4 separate regions of the Homo sapiens genome follow, and all the other regions are linked to region 3. Evidence: promoter capture Hi-C in human tissues and cell types (Jung and others, 2019). All regions are on one chromosome and are shown on one strand. Each heading gives the region's core, a stretch centred on a gene start or on the middle of the fragment in contact. The rest is flanking DNA. Distances are from core to core; before and after follow the strand shown. Region 1 overlaps MAPKAP1 (MAPK associated protein 1). Region 2 overlaps PBX3 (PBX homeobox 3). Region 3 holds the start of MVB12B (multivesicular body subunit 12B). Region 4 overlaps PBX3 (PBX homeobox 3).

Evidence for each region. The method cuts DNA at HindIII sites, captures the fragments that hold promoters and counts their contacts. A contact is called where the count stands out against the background at its distance.
Region 1: a contact is called between a fragment that was not itself captured here and the fragment with the promoter of MVB12B in region 3, in 1 of the 25 tissues and cell types used here (lymphoblastoid cells).
Region 2: a fragment that was not itself captured here is called in contact with the fragment with the promoter of MVB12B in region 3 in 2 of the 25 tissues and cell types used here (heart left ventricle and mesendoderm cells).
Region 4: a fragment that was not itself captured here is called in contact with the fragment with the promoter of MVB12B in region 3 in 2 of the 25 tissues and cell types used here (dorsolateral prefrontal cortex and hippocampus).

Annotation. Positions count from the first base shown.
Region 1 is chr9:125,484,689-125,487,894 of GRCh38, reverse strand. The region is part of intron 8 of MAPKAP1 (MAPK associated protein 1); the gene reads left to right. Among named protein-coding and RNA genes, the nearest start is that of MAPKAP1, 220 kb to the left of the region's middle. The HindIII fragment of the contact is 3,100 bases long and covers 1-2,863 here.
Region 2 is chr9:125,766,921-125,769,971 of GRCh38, reverse strand. The region is part of intron 2 of PBX3 (PBX homeobox 3); the gene reads right to left. Among named protein-coding and RNA genes, the nearest start is that of PBX3, 21 kb to the right of the region's middle. The HindIII fragment of the contact is 8,625 bases long and covers 1-3,051 here.
Region 3 is chr9:126,325,117-126,328,154 of GRCh38, reverse strand. MVB12B (multivesicular body subunit 12B) reads right to left here and starts at 1,326. Exons shown (of 10, transcript NM_033446.3): 1 at 1,145-1,326. The coding sequence starts at 1,225. RefSeq lists an enhancer at 109-760 and a silencer at 1,202-1,341. The HindIII fragment of the contact is 8,205 bases long and covers 1-3,038 here.
Region 4 is chr9:125,750,552-125,753,648 of GRCh38, reverse strand. The region is part of intron 2 of PBX3 (PBX homeobox 3); the gene reads right to left. Among named protein-coding and RNA genes, the nearest start is that of PBX3, 4.7 kb to the right of the region's middle. The HindIII fragment of the contact is 5,452 bases long and covers 1-3,097 here.

The DNA.
Region 1 (3,206 bases), core at 64-2,563, 840 kb after region 3:
TTTGAGCTTTTAGGACTACATTAGCTGGTGTATTAAACAAAATATGTCATTCTTCAGTAGCTTCTGTAAGAAGCTAAATCAATTTCCAGCCATATTTATGCACCACTTTATCTAAAAGCATCTGAATTATCATTTATAGCTAAGATGCTTTATTAGCAGCTGGCATTGAAATTGCTCAGTAAAAAATTATATGTCACGTTATAGTAATTTTTAAATTGGTTTTAATCCAACATCATAAAATGTAAAAATCTTAAGTGTGGGTTTTTTTTTTTTTTTTTTAGTAATTGGCATTTTAGCATAATGAGCTGTTACCTCTTTCCAAATCAAATACCTGCAATATTTAGAAAACACTAATTAGTAAAGCAAACAGAAGTTCTTGAGCTCAGAGCTAAATTGTATCTAATAATAGCATTTTCTCAGAAAAGATGACTTGAAATGATTTTTAAAACATTAAATGATTTTAATATTTTACCAAAATTCTCTGCAATTCTCATGTATAAGAAGTTCTAAAATAGAAATAAAACATGTTTTGGCAGTTATGTTTCAGTAAAAATGACTGGAAAAAGTGAATGATTATTTGAAACTCCAAATCCTAACCAGCCTCAGTATTACCCAGGAGAGAGTGGTAATCAGGATCATGGCATCTCTGTCCAAAATCATAGGTGCTGCAAAGAAAGGAAAGGGGCTACCCAGTGGCCCTTGCAGATGTGGAGTGAAGCTCTGCAGTGTCCTGGAGGTGCAATGTTGGTTAAGTCACTCTGTCTCTTTGACCCTCACCTTCCTGTGGACATGGCACCTGGTATTCGTTCAGTACATGTTTATTGAGCTCTGCTTTATCCTCTGAGTGGTAGCACTGGCAGTGTCTGAGTTGCAGTGGTGAGAAAGCAGTCCCTGTGTTCTTGGGGTTATAGTCTAATGGCAGAGACAGGCAATTACTCCCTGTGATAACTGTTCTGAAGAAAAATGCAGGATACGGGGACAGAAGGAGCCAAACTAGTGCCGGGGGCTTGCGGCCAGGGAAGGCTTCCCTGGAGTGTCACTGGTGCTCTGCTCTTCAGTAGGAAAACAGGGAGGGGCCGGGAGAGAATGAGATGGGGAGAAGGGTGACCTGGGCAGAGAGGACAGCATGTGCAAGAGGCTCTGAGATGGGATTCTGCCAGAGGCACTCAGTGAAGGGCGAGGTCATGTCCTTACTGAAGGAAAGTACTATTGTGGGTGCTGGGATGGTCCAGGTTGGGAATTACTGTAGTGTTTGCAAATAGAACACAAATTTCCTAATAAATGATTTCACTGTGAAAGCATCAGACACCAACTTTGACTTAAAATACTTGCCCCGTAAGCAGTAACTGTGGGAAGGAAAAGCATATCATTGTCAGGCTACCAGTTTGTTACAAAATTTTCCAGTTTTATACCCAAATCTAGAGTTTTCCATTCCCCCTAGAGTTCTCCCTAGGTTTCCCTGTGGAACTGTCTCTGAGTGCTCAACACGAGGCCTAGAGCACCCTACTGTGGTCAGCCCCTGCGAGACAGGCTCCTCCCCTCCCAACCCATTCTACCCCCTGCACTGGTGATGGCACCAACAGCTGCATCTGCAGAAGTCCACATTTCAAAGTCCAGGGACTGAGAGATAGTTTAACTTTGCTTAGTGTAACCTTGGCATGTGACAGCCTCCCAAAGCCTCAGAGTTCTCATCTGTAATATGGAAAATTATAAGACCTTCAATGCAGTAACGTGTGAAATGCTTAACACCAAGCCTGGCACATGGTAAGCACTCATGTATACTAGCTATTATTTATCTAGCACAATTTAGTGAGAGCATACCAGTTGCCTTTACTGCTTGCAGAAGATATAAAAATGAGTAAGAAACTTTCCTGACCTTCACAAAGCTTCCAGATTAGGACAGAGCAACCACTAAGCAATTCTAGCACACGGCTGAATATAATCCACCCTGACACTAGAAGAAAAATAGTCACTGCTCTTATGAAGCATACATATTCTTTACCTAAATTTGGATGTGAATGGCAAAAACTGAAATTCAGAGAGATAAAGTCACTTGCCCAAGATCATACAGCAAATTAGAGGCAGAGCTAGGAGTTGCGGCCGCAGCTGTCGGGCTCCAGGGTCCAGTATAAGCCAACTTTTATGGAATTCACTTCCAGAAGAACCATCAGAAAAGATTTCACAGGAGAGGTAGAGTTTGAGCTAGCCTAGGGAGGGGTGGAGGGATTTCAACAGGTCTGGGTGAGGATGAGAGGGTTGTTCTAGGCCAAGGGCAGCACATGAGCAAAGGCCCAGAATTATAAAAGCCTGAAGCACTGTGCAGTCTGAGGGGTTTGAGAGGGCTGAGAGAAGGCATGTGTGAGAAGTGAGAAGAATATTGGTATGTTTCAGGCACATTATGGGCTGCCCCGATTGCCTGGCTAAAAAAGTGTTCTTCATTCAGGAGGCCGTGGAGCCAGGGAAGATTTTTGAGCACCAGGCTTCTTATCTGTCTCCAGTGTCACATATCAGAGTACTTAGCATGCACAGGGTGCTCTCTGAGCATTTGGTGAATGAATGAATGATCCAACCTTTAGAAAAATGGATCAGAAAGCCTGTGGCGGCTGGACTGCAGAGGAAGAGCCTGGTGACCAGGAGGCCAGTGATGAGACTGTCACACTCAAGCACTAGCAGGTGCCCCCTGAGCCAGTGGGGGCTCTGTCAGTAGACAGCTATGTCTATCAATAGACAGCCATGTAACCTTAAGCAAGTGTCTTAATCTTTCTGAGCCTCAATTCTATCCTGCGTGAATGGGAATATCAGTACCAATGGCTCAGGGTTGCTATGGGGAACGAGTGAAATCCCACATGGAGGCTGTGGGGCGCAGGGTGAGAGGCAGTAAAGAAGACGTTTTGGGAATCTTGGAAAGGACAGAGATTCTTCAAGGAATGTGGATTACTTTTGTGATTAGGAAAATCACATTTAGAAAAAAAACAAGACCCGTGACACTGCTAACACCACCCAAGCTCTTGTGCTTTTGACTCACTCCTGTGGACTGAGCTTCCTGCCAAGAGCAAGCAGGAATTTTTTTATCCTTGCATCCCTGCTGCCCAGCCAAGGACCTGCCATAGTGTTTGTGGAATTAATTGTTGAATGATTAATATGTTACCATTCTCTGTTTACTGGAATGGCATTATTAAGTCATCGCTCAGCCTTTTCTTCTCCAA
Region 2 (3,051 bases), core at 58-2,557, 560 kb after region 3:
GCAACAAATACAAATTATACATAACCAGTTGAGCTTAAATAAATTAATAAGTGGTTAAGAGCTAATTAATAAACAATTCACTCAGTTTAAAAAAAAGTCAAAGAATCAGAATATTAAACTGAATAAAGCCTTAGAAATCTCCTCGTCCTACTTCCTTATTTTGTAAATAATCACTCTAGGACTTACCCAGGAACCCCAGGAAGCTTACACTAGTTCTGTATGGAAAACTATGATCCAACAAAATGTGATCTGTTGATCTATCCTTTTTTTCCCTTTATGTGTGCAGTCAAGACTGACTACAGGGTCTGCCTTCTAAGGGCAAAAGCTGTTTCCACACTGAAGAATATTCAGCAGAATACCATACTTGTGTAGGCACTTAACAAATACGCTAAGAGGATCACGCTAATGGCTTCACGATATATTCTGTTGCCTTTAGGATCAGCATACTAAAAACCTGTTTCTTTCCAGGTAAGGTAATCTTTCTGTATAGATATTACAGATGAAAATAAAATAATGCTCTCAGAGCAAATTATATTACATAAGCATTTCACTTTACACAGACTTGTAGTTCTGAAATGGTGTCCGTGGACCCCTGGTGGTCCCTGAGACCCTTTCAGGAGTCCACAAACTTAAAATTATTTTCACAGTAATAAGATATTGGTCTTTTTCACTGTGTTGACATTTATACTGATGGTGCACAAAGCAAAGGTGGATAAAACTGCTGGCGCCATTGCACAAAGCAAGACAGCGGCACCACACTATACTAACAATGTATTCTTTACCACTAGGCACTTAAATTTTTTTTTAAAGGCCAGTTTCACTTCACAATGTCCTTGATGAAACAGTAAAAATTATTAACTCAATCACACCTTCACTGTGTCTTTTTAATATTCTGTGACAAAATACAAATTCTCCACAAAGCACTTAGGCTGCATGCCAAGTGTGAGGAAAGCACTTGCATAACTGTGAGTTGCAAGCTGAACTAGCTGCTTAAAAAAAAATTAACAAATTATGGTTATTTCAGCTTATTTTGGCAGACCTTTTTTCAAAAAGAAACCAAGTAAACCTATACTTCAAGTAAAACAATAAACAGTTTTGGCGCTAATAATAAAATTCATGCTTTCAAGCAAAAATTAGAATTTTGAAACACTGTGTCCTCCACTGTGAGTATGAAATCTTCCCAGCACTTAAAAAAACTGTCCTGATAAGTTTGGTGGTAATACTCTTTCCTTTTCCAATTAGGTATCTGTATGAGGCCAGATATTTCTTCATATACATCAACCATATGATGACAGACTGAATGCAAAGGCAGATATGAGAATCCAGTTGTCTTCCATTAAGTCTGACATTTAAAAGATTTGCAAAAGTGTAAAACAATACTATTCTTCTTATCATTTAGTTTTGCTTAGTTTTGTTTCAGAAAATGCTGTTTAGGATAACATATAACAAGCTGATAATTGTAATAATGTTATTTATGCTAACATAATCGATTTATGATTTTAATTTTTAAATTAACTTAACGTTTTAAGAATTTGTTTCGATTGTTCATACAATAAATAGAGATTAAACCCGCATAAACAAAACTTATTTTAGGAGTATAAAGGAGTCCTAAGATCAAAAAGTTTGAGAATAAATGACACAGATATTCTCTTCAAAAGTCTTTACATAGGAAAGTTTAACAAATTAAATACAGATTCTAACCCAATAAATCATCTACTTATTTTATATACACAAGGATGGCATGTATCTTAAAAGAATTCTATCACATAGCAGAAATTAAATCCCTATAAAGCAACATGAAATAACAAAACAGTTACCAAAAAGACAAACTTGCCCCCCACCACCCCCAAGGACCTTATATCATCTAGGTCATAAACCAGTAATTTTTTTTTTGTATCATTCTTGCAAGGTAATATATGCTAATTACCAAATAAGTTCCTTCAACAACCCATGTCTCTAATTTCAGATTTCCCTCTTCTAAACTCCCCTCTCCCCGTCCCACCGGCCGCCAGCCTTTTTCTCTAGTCCTACTAGCACCTGAGTCTCATTGCTAGCCTGCTCCTGCCTTTCATGTAATTGTTCTATTCCATTTTTCTGATTCTTTCCCCTCAATACACTCAAAGATTCACTACACTCAGAAACGACTGGTGGTCTGAGTGTTTGTAGAACCACTGGGTAGAAAGCAGATCCACTAGGCTTCTCAGAAGAAAGTGGATTGCAGTTACAAATTTGGATAAAATGTAGTTTTTTAAAAAGTCTACCTCTACAAAGCTATTGTTAACCCAAGGTCCATGGTATCCATGAGGGATCCATGAATGATATTCAAGGTGTCTATAAACTCCCTGAAACTGTATTTAAACTTGTATGAGTATGTGCACTTTTCTAGAAAGTGAGCAGTGGGTCCACTGCTTTTATCACTTTCACATAGGAAACTACACTAAAAACAGATTTCCTGCACTACAGCTTTCTGGAGTACCACAAGCATAGATACCTGTGAATGGTGGTATGAACAGATATTAACTATTACATGGAAGAAAGGGCAGATTTTTGAATTACATGACTTTTTAAGAATAAGGACAAAATCAGAATAAACTATTCACCAGCCAAATAGTTATGAGCTTTCCATGTCTTAATGGTTTTCATGAAGCAAAATACTTGGCAGTTGGTTTAATGCCATTGGTTTAATGATGAGATTTAGACATACATATCAGCCTAACTCACCACTTAGCATTCGCCAAATTCACCGGTCACCTGCAACTAAGAGAATCCATGACAAAATTACTTCCAATGGCTTTCCATTATAAATAATTGGGGTTTTGTTTTTTAACTGTTTCAAAATGCTGTTAAGGGTTACAGTTAAAAAGCAAGTGAATATAAAATATAATTTTCCAGGTCTTTCCACCTGATGAGCGACAGCAACACATCAGTGGTTGATTCAAAATAGGAAGTAAACAGTTCAACAATGACTGTAACACAGAGAAGTCAAGTAAGTCTAAAAGAACAAAAAACTATAGCAATTAAATAAATGATACCTTACTGTATTCTGTTCCC
Region 3 (3,038 bases), core at 77-2,576:
CATCTACTGTAACTAAACATCCTAGCACATTGAGTTTTTCAGTTAGTCAAGGCTTCACAGAGCTTATTTTTTAACTCTCTAAGCTTTCCTGGTGCCGCTGATAAGATTTCCCAGCCCTGTTAAAACGAGATGAGATCCAGCCAGCTGTCGAGAAATGTACAATGAGATTATACTGAGAAGGAACCACGAGAGACAAAGGCCCCTAAGAGGAGCTGGTCTGCTGTCTGCTTTTGTGGCAGCAATCGGAGTGGGCTCTGGTTCTTGGGTGGGGGCAGGAAGCAGGGAAGGGGCAACCACCATTTGCCTTTTGCCCTCCTGTGGTCTTCCTCAGTGCCTTGTGCAAGAGGTGTTGAGGGGCAGGGAACAGAAGAGTCTCATCTTTCATGGTGAGAAGGGCTGCTGATTTAGAACAGTTGTGTGTTGGTAACAAAGAGGACAAAAGATGCTCTTGGGTCTACCCCGTTCCCTGGTGCCTGCCTCTGAGGATGTGATGTCCCCTGGTGCCATGCCTCAGCTCTTGTCCCAGCCCCTGCTCCTCCCGTCTCGCTGGTGTTGGAGTCACTGTAGGGTGCTCGACGTGCCCACCATGTTCCTGGATGGGTGCTCTGGGTCTCGGGTACCCAGGCTGGGCATGTCACCTTCCAGACAGGTGCCTGAGGGTTTAGGTGTCCTCTCTGCTGTGCCCAGGTCACAGAGGCAGTGATGCTCCTGGGGCAGGTGCACGTTGGTCTGCACCCACGTGACCAGAGAGAGCAGGACCCCAGGCCAGGCCGGTCAAACGATTGACTGTTCCCAGTCTGTGCCCAGGTGGGCCGCCTCCCTCTCACGCGGGCAGAGGTGGCTCTCGGCGCCCCTCACCTGCCCGGGCCTTGGGGGCGCTGCTGGCACTCGGGTCCCCCAGCTTCTCCCGCCTCTCGCCGCCAGGCCGAGCCCGGGCACCGGCAGCCGCGGCGCGCTCGGGGCTCTGCAAAGGCCGCCCGGGCCTGTCCCCGCCGCGGGCCGGGCACGGAGCCCGCAGGCCTCGGCGCGGCCCGGCTCCTCCCGTCCGCCCGCCCCTCGGCCGGGGGCCCGCGCCCGCCCGCCCGCCCTCCCGGCTGCAGGGCCGGCTCCGCCGAGCCTCCGCGGCGCCCGGGCCTCACTTAACTGTTCCCCGCTGGGGCGGCGGCGGCGGTGGCTGCGGCGGCGGCGGGTCCCGGCTCCGTCTCACGCAGAAGCAGCTTCTCATCGCCCGGGCGGCGCGGGAGGGGCCGGGCCCGGGGCCCAGGCGGCAGGAGCCGGCGCCGCAGCTCGAGCGCGAGCCTCACCGAGAGCGGCGGCGGCGGCGGCGGCGGCGGAGGGGCGGGGCGCGGCCTGGCGGCGGCGGCGACAACGGCAGTGGCGGCGGCGGCTCCCTCCGCGGGCCGCGGCGGCGGGCCGGGCTCCGGGCCTCCCGGCGCTGGCGCTGGTTCAGGATCGGGGGAGGCGCCCGGCGCCCGAGGCTGGCTCGGGCGGGAGGAGGGAGAGGGAGCCCTGGCGTCCCGAGCCCGCGCCGCCGCCCCGGCCGGCACCCCGCCTCCCCAGCCTCCCCCTCGACCCAGCCCGTCAGCCGCAGGCAGGGCCCCGGTGCGCCCACCCGGGCCTCCCCGAGCCCGCCGGCGACCCCAGTCCAGCCTCAGGCCCCCGGGAGCCCACGGCCTCTAGAGCCTGGGGCATCGATGGTCCCCGCCCCCAGGCTGGTCTTTTCCAGGGACCCTCAGCCCACTTAGCTCTCGTAGGCCTCGCTGTACGCAAGACCGGTCTTCCGCTCGGCTGCAGATCCCTGGAAGCCCCCAGGCCCTCAGGCTAGAAGTTGGACCCTTCTAAGGACTCTCCGCCCACCCAGCCATTCTAGGCTTCACTGAACCCTAGAATCCTTCAGCTCATCTTCCCCCACCCCCCAGCTCACCTAAGGTGAGCTCAGCCAGTCGTCTCAAACTAACCCCAATTGCCTAGCAATTCTCTTATATTAGTTAGATGATTTATCCCCAGAAGCCTAGAATCAGGTTTATGGGGCCAGCCTCAGGCAAGCATCTAGAAGAAGTTTTTAGCAGGAGTCCTACCCTGCAGTACTTGGGGAAGGCATAAGCCAAGGATAAAATGGAGCTGGATGGTTGGGGGAGGGTCCAGAGCTTGACCCTCAGCTAGAGTGGCTGGTAGGAAAGGCGGACTCTGCGCCTTAACCAACCATGCCCCCCACACCGCCCAGCCAGGCACCCCAGGCAGAGGCCAGCGTGTGCAAGATTTGAAAGGTTTCCTGCCAGGAGGCTGGAGCATTCGTTAGGACTTGAGGACCATGCAGGAGTGATCAGCATTGATTTGCTAATGCATTGAGTCTCATTTTCACACATTCTAGGCTTTTCCATAATAGCTGTTTGATCCTAAAGAGAAGGGTGCCAAGCAGAATGGGCTGTCGGGGGAAACATCCTGTAGGGAAGCCATGCACGTGTGCATTCCCAGTGTCTTCACTACTCAGAAATGCCATGGGTTCAGATGGCTTTACAGCAAGCCTTATCCTCCCATCAGGGCACAGATCATCCCTATGTTACTTAAACTGTTACACAGGAAAAAATAAACAAAAGAAACAAAAATTTTTATTTCATTTCCCAAGTTTAGCATAACCCTGATACCAAAATCCAACAGACAATACCAAAAAGAACTGCAGATGACTAACCTAGAACACGAGTCCCCAGAGAATTTAATATTTATTTTTTGAAAATGGGCTTCTGTGGGCAACTTGAGAAAGTGCTGCATGCCGTTTATAGTGTACCTTTTGGAGAATCACGATAAGTATTCGTATATTAAGGAAGGCCTCTGTGAAGTCCAGGAGTAAAGAAACCTGTTTGGTTTGTTTAACCTGGCATTTCCCAAACTCATCTGAGCCAGGACCACCTTCTAAAGCTCACTGATAAATCCTCAATATGTGAATCTGCACTATATATTTAAGTATATAATAGTCGTAAAACTATTAAATACAATTTTAGCCATTTGAATCCAGTTTACTATTAAAGCAACTGAAAACC
Region 4 (3,097 bases), core at 105-2,604, 570 kb after region 3:
GTAATAAAATGAGGGTCATTAAAACTAAGGAACAAAAGAATTACTTGCACAGATCAAGTTAGTATTGACAAGAGAGTTCAATACATTTTTATTGGGAAGAAAAAAATAAAGAACAGGATTGGAAAATGTCTCTATATTTTAAAGATAATATCCACATGATACTTTAGATCATGAGGTTCTAAACCAGCTTGGCAATGAGATTTTTCTCCAGGTTTTCTACAAATGTATTATATGTGCTATTTTGTTAGGATGGAAATGGAAGAATAAAGAAGTAGAAAAATCCCTTTCTTTTACAACTTCTCTGAAAACCTCCTACAAAAGCTCCAGTAAGATACCAAATCTATAAAAATAGAAAAAAAAAAAGGTAAAATATTAAGTTAAGAAAAATATATTGATAAAGCAATATAATTTATAACATTTCCAAGATACTCTGACTTTGTATTTTTCCTGTTTAATCACTTAATATTTCCAATATAAGCAGACCTAATGCTTAAAATTGATATGAAACTTAAAACATTAAAGAACCATTAAAATTTGCTTCAAAATAATTTTGGAATGGTGGGAATTACAGAGAAAACACGACTGGCCAAGTATTGCTAATTGCTGAAGATGGGCACTGAGTTCATGGGAGGTTCAAGAGTCTCTGCTCTCTGCATGTTATGTTTCAAAGGTGTCCACAATAAAAAGTTGTTAAAATCTTGAAAATAAGTTCATTAAAACAAAATGTGTTTCATGAAAACACAAAAAGGAATCATGTATGGAACAGTGCATTTGTTTTTAAAACTTGAAACAAAAGATGATAATTATATTGGAAATAGTGCAAGAGCAACTTAAAAGCATATGCAAAATATATAATAACATTTAGACTAATATATAACAATTTTCACCTTTCTTGCTAAATTTTCACTTGAAAAAATTGATTTTTACATATGTAGAATTAAAAGAATCACACAGCACTGTACAAAGAAAAATGTAACAGATTTTTATATTGAAACCTTAAAAAGAGAAGCACACCAAAAAAAGACTCCAAAGAGTCTCTAAACCTGTGGGTTCACAATTAAATAGAGAGGTGTCGAATGACAGTACTGCCTTGTCTCTTTGAAAGCTAGTCACACTTCTAGCAATAAAGATAAAAGGTTTAATCTCACATCATATACTAAATGCACATAAAACCTCACTTGTAAACTATACTCTTGATCTAGTTTTAATATCTAAAATTCTTATGACTCTTTCTAGGGAGGGTTCCTTTAAAAGTAAGGCATTTTTACTAGTCATTTTCTTCTCCTTAAACATAAAAAATACTTCAACCAGCCCAACCAACCAAGCAGGCCTTTCTCTTCCCCTGCGGACACCTCCTGCAGTAGAGAAGTTCATTAAGTTTTATGATCTTCCCAAGTCAGTCCTACTTATAAGCCTCACAAAGGCTACAAATCTGGCAAACCATCATGTATGCCATTAGACATTACTAGTAAATGAACGCTATTTAGGGTTTGTGGTGGCAATAAATCAGAGTTTGGTTGGCAGCCATCAACATGGAGTATTTTAACCTATTATTTGAAAAGGAAAAGGTTGTGTTTATTTTTTTTCATGCATAACATTTTTCACAATAATGTGATTCATATTATCTACTAAAATGTGGGATTTCATTTAAAAAATAAATATTTTTTTCTTGAAAAAGAACTATTTCCTTCACTTAAACTCGCACAATTAAGGGCTTTGGAAAGAAGACAAGATTTTTCAGGATGAAATATTTCACAAAGGAAAGCACTTCAACAATTAAGATTAAGATGACCAAAAAGAGGTGGGGGCATACACCAAAAGAGGTATGCAGGTGAGCAGACCTTGTGGCATCAGGGATATTTAATAAGAGACAGATGATAAAATATGGCTTTAAAAATCAGGAGAAAAATCTTAACATATCAACAATAATCTCACTGGTTACTTGGTTTAAAATAAACAACTATTTTTATTTTAAAGCCTACAACTTTTTGGGTGCTCTCAAAATGCACAAATATCACAATTCAACAATGAGAGACATTTCTGCCCAAAAATAATGGTATGATCAATTTTACGAAAGAATATATTCTCAAGAAAAAGCAGCATCTTATAGTAGAAGTATACTTTCCTTACCTCTCAACAAGAAAATAATATAATTGTAGTAGATTACCCATTTATCTGTCAGAAGGGAAAAATACCTTTTCATATATGGTAGAGGGGGAAACAGATGTTTTCTAAACTAAATCCCCCATGTGCATAAGAACTGGCAGTGTTCACTGCCTGATCAGAAACCTCAAAATCCACTGGCAGAGCTACAAATAAACAGATTTTTTTTAAAATGATTTTGTTTTGTTTTAGAAGAAAAGCACAACTGAAATGACATTATCCACTGAAATGACAGTTCACCCTCAACCCCCTTCATTAAGCAGAATAGAGTCATCAACATAATGTTTCTGGTTTCTATTCATAAATGACTAGGTAAACTTTCTCTAAATTACAAAGAATTAATTTTTAGGTATTATTAGATTAAATAAAATGATTTTTAAAAAATATTTATGCAATATACATATATTCTACAATGTTTCTTTTATAAGTTCATGTTTCTAAAGCATGACCGACTATGGAAGCAGGAGTGGGGGGGCTTGGAATTTGCAGCCCCGCTTTCTTTGCTTTGGTAACACTAATGTCTACACAGCTGTTTTATTTCGAATTGAGGATTCTGAGTCCCTGTCTCATTCTAAGACTAGTTTTGGAGAGTGAGGTGAAGCTATGGGTAGTAGGGGAGAATGGAAAGAAGAGAAAGAGCTTCACCCCCATCAATCACTCAGTACTTAAATCCCATCCCTCTCGAGCTTAGAGAGGCTAGCAGGAAGATGCCTCTACCCAGACAGCCGCCTTTACTCTTTGTCGGCTGTTGGCTTTTTACAAAAGAGATAACGTGCAAATGTGGATCCACTGGCCAAAGCACAAAAAGAGAATCTAATTTACAAGTTATCACTGAAAGCCCCAGAAACAATTTTAAAACACAAAAATTTCTTTTGTCAGCTGCCTCTTGGTTTTTAAATAGCAATAGCCCTACCAAAGCTCTCTCTGCCAGTAA